Linked DNA regions of Homo sapiens: region 1 is linked to region 2. Evidence: promoter capture Hi-C in 16 types of primary human blood cells and fetal thymus (Javierre and others, 2016). All regions are on one chromosome and are shown on one strand. Each heading gives the region's core, a stretch centred on a gene start or on the middle of the fragment in contact. The rest is flanking DNA. Distances are from core to core; before and after follow the strand shown. Region 1 has its middle 45 kb from the start of KRABD5. Region 2 holds the start of KRABD5 (KRAB domain containing 5).

Region 1 (4,086 bases), core at 183-2,682, 44 kb after region 2:
ATGAAATTGAGATGTGAAAATCCATACAAAAAATCAATGAAACAAAAAATTGGTTCATTAAAAGAATAAATAATATTGAGGGAGCACTAGCTAGACTAATAAACAAAAAGAAAAAATCCAAACAAACACAATTAGTATAACAATGGTAACATTGCCATTAACTTCACAAAAATATTTTTAAAAAACCCTCAGAGACTACTATGAATGCACACAAACCAGAAAACAGAAGAAATGGATAAATTCCTGGAAACATACAACCTCCTGAGATTGAACCAGGAAAATGTTGAATACCTGAACAGACCAATAATAACTTCCAAAAGGGAATCAGTAATAGAAAACCTACCAACCAGGAAAAGCCCTGGACCAGACAAATTCACAGCCAAATTCTACCAAGCATATAAAGAAGAGCTGGTACCAATCCTACTAAAACAATTCCAAAAATTTGAGGAGGAACGATTCATCCTTAACTCATTCTATGAGGCCAGCAACATCATGACACCAAAACCCGGTGGAGGCATAATCAAAAATTACAAAAAAACTTCAGGCCAATATCCCTGATGAACATAGATGTAAAATATTCATAAAATACTAGTAAATGAAATCCAGCAGCAGATCAAAAAGTAAATTATCCATGATCGGGCAAGTTTCATTCCTCAGATGCAAGGTTGATTCAACATATGCATATCAACAAATATGATTCTTCACATAAACCGAACTAAAAACAAAACCACATGATCATCTCAATAGATACAGAAAAGCCTTTTAATATCTCCTCATGTTAAATACCATCAACAAACTAGGCATTGAAGGAACATATTTCAAAATAATGAGTCATCTATGACAAACCCACGGCCAACATCATACTGAAGGGGCAAAAGCTTGACCAACTCCCCTTGAGAACCAGAGCCAGGCTGCCCATTCACCACTGTTATTTAAAAGTACTTGAAGTCCCAGCCAGAGCAATTAGGCATGAGAAGGAAATAAAAGGCATCCAAATGGGAAGAGAAAGTCAAAGTATCTCTTTCTGCTGATGATATGATTCTATACCTAGAAAACCTCATATTCTCTGCCCAAATGCTCATAGAATTGATAAACAACTTCAGTAAAATTTCAGGATACAAAATCAATGTACAAAAATTACTAGAATTTCTATACACTAATAACGTCCAAGCAGAGAGCCCAATCAAGAATGCAATGCCATTCACAATAGCCACAAAAAAGAAAAATTACCTAGGAATACAGTGAAACAGGGAGGTGAAATATCTCTGCAACATGAATAACAAAACTGCTGGAAAAAAATCAGAGATGGCACAAACAAATGGAAAAACATTCCACGCTCACGGATAGGAAGAATCAATATTGTCAAAATGGCCATGCTGCCCAAAGGAATTTACAGATTCAATGCTATTCCTGTCAAACTACTGCTGTCAGTTTTTACAGAATTGGAAAAAAGCATTCTAAAATTCATATGGAACAAAAAAAAAGCCCAAATACCCAAAGCAATCCTAAGTAAAAAGAACAGAGAGGCATCACATTATCTGACTTCAATCTATACTACAAGGCTACAGTACCCAAAACAGCACGGTACTGGTATAAAAACAAACACATAGATCAATAACACAGGTTAGAGAACCCAAAAATAAAACCACACACCTACAACCATCTGATATTCAACAGAGTTGACAATTAGAAGCAATGGGGAAAAAAGTACTTATTCAATAAGTGGTGCTGGGATAATTGGCTAGCTATAGGCATGAGATTGAAATGGAACCCCTTCATTTCACCATATACAAAAATCAACTCAGGGTGGATTAAAGACTTAAACATAAAACCAAAAGCTATAAAAACCCTAAAAGAAAGCCTAGGAAATACCATTCTGGACATAGGCTTTTCATGACAGAGACCCCAAAAACAATTGCAACAAAAACAAAAATTGACAAGCGGGACCTAATTGACAAGTGGGACCTAATTAAACTAACAAGCTTCTGCACCGCACAAGAAACAGCATTAATGCACAATCTATGGAATGGGGAAAAATATTTGCAAACTCGGTGTTGAGGTGATCAAACCCAACACCAGGTCATGGGGGCTATGAAGTCCGGTGGAGTCAAAGGAATGAGACAAAACAAATTAAGAGTACATAGGGTGGGTCCAGGGGGCCAATGCTAGCATATGGAGGCAGTGAAGGCCCCGAGCTCTGGGACTATTTATTGGTAATCAAACAAAGAAGCAGGTGGTGAGGATGTGCAGATGTAGACAGGTGAGGACGTGAGGACGTGGGGGTAGAAAGGTAACAGTGCATCAAGCGTAACTGTGATGCTTTAGCATATGCTCTGCTACTTGAAATAAGGGAGAACAGGTTCTTTTGATGCAAGATATAATCAATTTATGATCTTGGGAGATCAAGGAGCAAGGGGTCAGCGAGTCTGGACACATTCCAGAGGCTACAAGGGGTTTTACGCCCTGAGCCCTGGGTTCTCTCCAAGCCACAAGGGGTGTTATGCCCTGGGCTTAGATTGTAGTGTGGCAGGGCAGCCTTCCACCCTTTGGCACAGAGCTTGGTGTTCCATAGGCCACAAGGGGTTTTAGACCCTGGACCCAGGACATGTTCCAAGACTCGTTTACATTATGTCAGACAAGCGAGCCCTGCCTCAGATCTTCTGCCAACATGTCTCTCTTTTTTGTTCTGCAAAACTGCCACAGCTATCATTGCTTGTTCTCGGCTTGTTCTTGGCCCCCTGGACTCACCCTATGTACTCTTAATGTGTCTTGTCTAATTCCTTTGACTCCGCCGGACTTCATAGCCCCCATGACCTGGTGTTGGGTTTGATCACTCGGTGGCTTTCTCTCCAGAGGTGGCTTCTGCATCTGTAGACTGAAACGAGACAGCACAAGCACATAATTATTAGAACAAGGTTTACAGGTGTAGCGTTTCCAATGGTCTTAATCCATTTAAGAGGATTGATTGCAGACAACCCATCAGCTGCCTTGCTTAAAATATCAGTTCCAGAGAGCAGGGTTAAGTGAGCCTGAGAGGCTTCAAAAACCTGCTCTTTCAGTTTTACAATATCAAGGGAGAGATTTTCCTCTCTACCCTCTAGATGGCATTTATTTCTTTCCCATTGGCGTTGTGTTTCATTGTAACTATGAGGAATAATGCAAAAGTCAGATGTATTCCAATCACATTGCATTTGAATTCTAGTTTCTAAACTTATGATGCGATCCCCCATTCAAGTTACTGTCTGACAGAGATCATTAATTTGATTAACTATCTTTTGATCTGTTTGGACCTGAGAGTTCCATAATTTCATATAATTATTTTGCCATTTATCAACAAATTAAACAGTTTGCGCAGATGAGTGTAAAGCCGCACCAGCTACTGCAGCAGTAGTGGTAACTGCAATGAGGCCAATTACAGCAAATATAAGAGCAATTATAAATCTTTTTGAATGAGATAAGAGTTTTTTAAGGATCTCAGTTATAATATGAATGGATGGTGATGCCTCCCATGGTCTATTTAGAGACACAGGGATCCAAACTTCTGTGGCTCTAATTAACAAGATAGTTTGATTTTTATCAAAGGTTGAGTTAATGCAAGTAAACAAGTGACATTCGTGGCAGGTGATAAAACAGGTATTCATGTCAAGAGTAATATTTCCTATTGCTAACATAAAAGGTGGCAGGACACAACTTTGAATCCAAAAGGTCCTGTTAGAAAGAAAAGAGAGGACATATTTATCTTTACCTCCTTCCCCTTTATACTTATTATATTTACCTTCTCAAATTTTGATTGAACTTTGAGCCATAGCTAATTTTCATAATTCTGAATGCTCCTGTCCTATGGCAGGAGATATCATTTTTGGACTAGGAGTGACAGTGCCACCAGGGCTCCATATGATAGGGCCATCAGCTTCTGTCTCAATATACTATGTATGGTTCTCTTGCCAACAATTCCATTGGCTTATTTCATTTTTTCTACAAGAGGGCCTTCTGGTGCAATTTTTCTTAAAAATCCCCTTAGGGGACCAATCAATGACAATTCCATAGGAATTATTTTGTAACACCTCAGCCTTATTTGCTATACAA
Region 2 (4,625 bases), core at 1,890-4,389:
TAAAAGGCAGAAGGGAAGGTGCTACTAAGAACTCTCACATGGGGGGCAGTGCAGAACTGGTGGAAGGACTGGTTTGTGCTACAGATACTGGCCCAGGCAAGGCTATGCTCTGACTTACTCCTGTGTCCATGCAGGCAGATGAGACTATGACTGGGTGGTCCACAAGCCTAGGTTGATGGAGGGACTGGGTTGCTGCTGCAGTTTCAGGGTCTGGGGGCAAGGATAAGCCAGGAGTCCTCTAGGCACCTGTATGGGAATTTTGGCAGGAAACTCTAGGAGCAAAGGTGCTATGGGCACAATTCCTGAGGGTCATGTCTTGTCCTGAAAGGGGCATGGCGACGCCAGTGCCTAGTGGGTGTGTTCAGAGTGGGTGGGAATTATGTGGTGGCAGCACAGTGGGGGCAGGGGTCTGTTCTCAGAACTTCTTCCCTTTCTGTCCTCAGTCGCTTCTCACCCTGGGAGGAGACGTGGAATCACAGGACAATGTGTAGGGTGACAGTCTGTGTGCAGGGGAATACAGCCTCCCTTCCTGGAGACACCCAGAGTCTCTCTCCAGCCCAGGTCCCTGTGCTATCTTTTTTATGACACTGTGTGGAGTTTGCTGAACACCAGCCAATTCTCCAACACCAACTGGTTGTCCAACAACTCAATTCTGACAGCACCCAGAGGCAGCACAGACCCCACAAGTTCAGAGTTCAGTGCCACAACACTGCCCCTCTACAGATGCCAGTCACAATTCCCCAGGGGCCATCTATACTTCTGAGCTACTGCCTGTAAGTTAGGGCCTCCCATAATACCCTACTCAAGTTCATTAATTTTATACAAGGATTCACAGAACTCAGCAAAGACTGTAATTGCATTGACCAGTTTATTATAAAAGATACAACTCAGCCTAATGGAAGAGATGTGTAGGGCAAGAGAAAGGAGTGGGGAAAAGATGGAGTAGGTAGTTAACCCTGGGAAGCAGCTGTGATGAAAGAAATCCCCCTTCCTTTTTGTTCTTCAAGAGCAGCTTACTGCAAAGAATCTTCTTCCTGTTATGACTTAGATGATGCTCCCTGTTTTAGGTATCACAAAGCCACAAACTCTCCTATTTCCTTTTTTTCCCCCTCATAAGCAATTAAATAAAGAGTTTTATCTTCGATGGTCAAAACAAAATATGTGTTAACCAAAGTTGCTTAAATTTCTCCCCTTCTCCAAGGTGCCTGAGGTTTGTCCCACCCACAGCCTGAGTCAACATTCAACCCCTCTTTATGCCCCTCCTAAGAACAGGCTGACTTCAGGGTGAAACATTCTCTGATCAGGGATCTGATTTAGTCCAGGAGTCGTGCCCTTCCCCTCCCACCTTGAATCATGTTTGCTCCTCCCTATGAAAGAAAGGCCTTTTCTGCTTCAACTGTGAGATCCACAAATATCTTACAGTTGGTGCTTTCCTCCTCTTGCAATACTCCTTTACAATTAAGGCACTTCTTACCTATATCCAGATGTTTTATTTGACCAAGTCAAGAAACAGCCCCAGGACACTAACAATTCCACCCTCAGAAAGAGCTTCCCAATCTCCCTTCCAGCCCAACCTCGACCACATCCGCCTGTGAATCCCCTGCTTTCCAGAACTCTGCAGCTTCTCCCAGTAACAAAGGGCTCCCTCCATGGCTGCTGTGAACCTCAGGGACACCTGAAGGGGGCGCTCCCCAGGAAGAACTAACTGGGCCTTCAATGACCTCCTTTTGCAGGCTCAAATAAGACTGAGGTCTTCTATGCCTAGTCAGGGTTATTCCACACACCCGCTTCTCAATTCGCAGGCTCTCTCTTTCAGGTCCATCGAGGTGGGGTGCCTTCTTCCCATCTCATCAGCTCTCCACAAGCATCTAGCGAGCTCTAAAACCTACCCCAGGATAGCAAACGTCAGACCTTCCTCCACTCTCCTGGCACTGCACGCCTTCTGGGGAGTGCTGCCAATCCTACCTCAACTGAAGGGACAGGAGCAGGTGCCCAGCCAGTCAGATGTTCAGTGACCTAACAGGTTTCAGGAAAATAGCAAAATCACTCAAAACAGTTTTTATAGAAAGGAAGGAAACTGTAAGGCACTTACACTTTATACTTCAACAGGTAAGGCCAAAATACCTCTTTCGAGCAAGAAACATGTCATTTAATTATTTCCATAATAGCAGATCATTTAGTATATGTGAACACTTCTAGGAGGTGCCAAGTCCTGTCTCATAACATTTGGCATTAAAGTCGGACATCCAGATAGCAGTAGAATATGGAACACAGATATCCACTGTCACAAATCCTCCACTGCAAAAGAGAGGACCTGATATTTTAATGAATGTTTGTAATTGACCAATTAATCTAGCACACTTTCTGTGGAAATGTATTCGTTTTCTACAGCCAAAGTGGAAGAGAGATTGTCCCTATTTCTTTTCCCCAGCAGCATTCCTAAGCTGAGCCCTGGGATTTTGAAATCGCTGCTCCAGAGGACCCTAAACCACAAACCACGGCGGCAGGCTTCCCATTTCACCAATCGCTGTTTACCTAAATCAACCCTTTAACGCTTTAAGGGTGACTCCCCTTAATTTGTAAGAGGAAAAAGGAGACTGGGACACCACGGGGCACAGTATCTTCCCACACACGAATCACACGCCGACCCGGGATTTCCCCTAAGACCCTCACGTTCTCACCGCACAATCTCGGGAGACGCCGGGCTGCGGCGACCCAAAGACGGCTCCGGCCATGGCAGAGGTCGCTCTGCGGGGTCGGGAGGGGACCGGACGCGCGGGGTCCCGGCTGCCGGCCCGGCCGCCATCTTGCGGCGGAGGGGACCAAGGGCCGAGTTGCGTCCGCGGGGACTCAGGGCCCAGACCCCGAAGCTAACCTCAAAGAGGGTTCCCGCCGCTTCCGACCGCCCCTCTCCCTCTTCTGGGGACCCCCGACCTGGCACATTCACCATTTCCCAGCTTCCGGGATGTCCTGGCGTCTGAGCTACGGATCTCCCGGTGCCTGCCGGTCACAGAGTAACAGAGGTTCTGTCTATTCTCAGAACGCGAAGCCGCCTTGGCCTCCCAGATGGAAGGACTGGGAGCCCCTGGTGAAGAGACTGAGCTCTTACTGCAGCCAACAAAGGCCACCGCCAAATCCCGGAAGCCGCCCCTGCTCTCCGGCTACTCCCGATTGGAGGATTTCCACTCCGACGCCACTGATTGGGTAAAGCTCCAGGCCCCGCCCTCTCACTCGTTCTGCTTTTTGAATGGGAGACAGGCTCATTGAGGTGGGGCCACCTGCTGAGGGTATTACAGCTAATTTAAGGGGTGAGCTTGGACTTGAAATGCACTTGCTTTCCCGTACCTGGTTTTGCTTGTATAAGGCATCTTATTAGCTAATTAAGTTTAAGAAGGAGGGCATTTGGGCACCTTTAAAACAACTTTTTAACCGTTCTAATAACACAGGAAAGACCCTCATCCCATCCTTAGCACCTCTCATCACACGGTACCCCACTGCTCAGGACATAACTGTGGGACTGCAGAGGAAACTGCTGGGGTTTTTGGGGAGCATGCAGGAGGCTTCAACAGCCAAGGTAACGGTGGCTTCCCTTGGGTGTCACTTAAAATCTTGGGGTCAGGGACATCTTTTATCCAGTTGGCTCAGGGAAACTAACAGACAGGAGGATTGTAATTTTTTTTTTCTTTTCTGAATTTCCAAGACATAAAGGACTATCCAAGCATCCCAAAAGGCATTCAATTATACATAAGGCTGAGGGCCTCCCTGCTCTGGAGAGGGATGGCCTGGCAGCCACCAGCTGCAGTGAGCTGAGATAGTGCCACTGCAATGGGCCTTAAACTTGCCCTCTTGTAGACAGGCCACCTCCACACACCCGCTTCTCACATCGCAGGCTCTAACCCTCCGGTCCATCAAGGTGGGCTGCCTTCTTCCCATGTCATTAGCTCTCCACAAGCATCTAGTTAGCTCTAAAACCTACCACAGGATAGCAAACGTCAGACCCTCCTCCACTCTCCCGGCACTGCACGCCTTCTGGGGAGTGCTGCCAATCCCACCTCAACTGAAGGGACAAATCTGGGCAGGTGCCCAGTCAGATGTTCAGTGACCTAACAGGTCCAGCATGCCCAGGGCCTGACCCCACAGCCTAGCACCCCTCCCCCACCTGGCCTTCAATCCAGCCTTTCTTCTCCAATGACGGGATGTTCACCTGTGCCACAATCCCATTAGTCTAGTGACGAGGCCAGGTAAATCCCAGCTGAGTGCCTGTGACTCCACCCTCTTACTTCCCACTCAGGTGACATTACAAGCATAACCTTGAATTTGAGCTAATTTATACATATTCCTCTCCTAGTAACCTGTTTGACAACAGCCCTCACAATCCAGAGACTGGGGCAGCAGGTTCCAAAACCTCACTTTATTCCAATGTGAAATGAAGACATGATGGTTTAAAAATGAGAAAAAGTTCCTGATAAGCTGTGGGGGTGCTTCACTTGCCAGCTCATGCCCATTCCCTCTGAAACAAGGTGTCTGTTACCCATAAACAACTCTCTGTAAAGCCCCAGGTAGAGGTCACAGCTGGACGTGGCTCCCTCAGGCTCACAGGGTAGCAATCTCCTCCCCCAGTCCAG

Evidence for each region. The method cuts DNA at HindIII sites, captures the fragments that hold promoters and counts their contacts. A CHiCAGO score of 5 or more calls a contact.
Region 1: a fragment that was not itself captured here is called in contact with the fragment with the promoter of KRABD5 in region 2 in 1 of 17 cell types (neutrophils); the score reaches 5.2 in neutrophils.

Annotation. Positions count from the first base shown.
Region 1 is chr16:31,666,360-31,670,445 of GRCh38, reverse strand. No RefSeq gene overlaps it. Among named protein-coding and RNA genes, the nearest start is that of KRABD5, 45 kb to the left of the region's middle. The HindIII fragment of the contact is 1,104 bases long and covers 881-1,984 here.
Region 2 is chr16:31,711,758-31,716,382 of GRCh38, reverse strand. It overlaps KRABD5 (KRAB domain containing 5), which reads right to left and starts at 3,139. Exons shown (of 5, transcript NM_001130913.2): 1 at 2,948-3,139. The coding sequence starts at 2,950. RefSeq lists enhancers at 1,679-1,728, 2,853-2,972 and a silencer at 2,703-2,762. The HindIII fragment of the contact is 15,701 bases long and covers 1-4,625 here.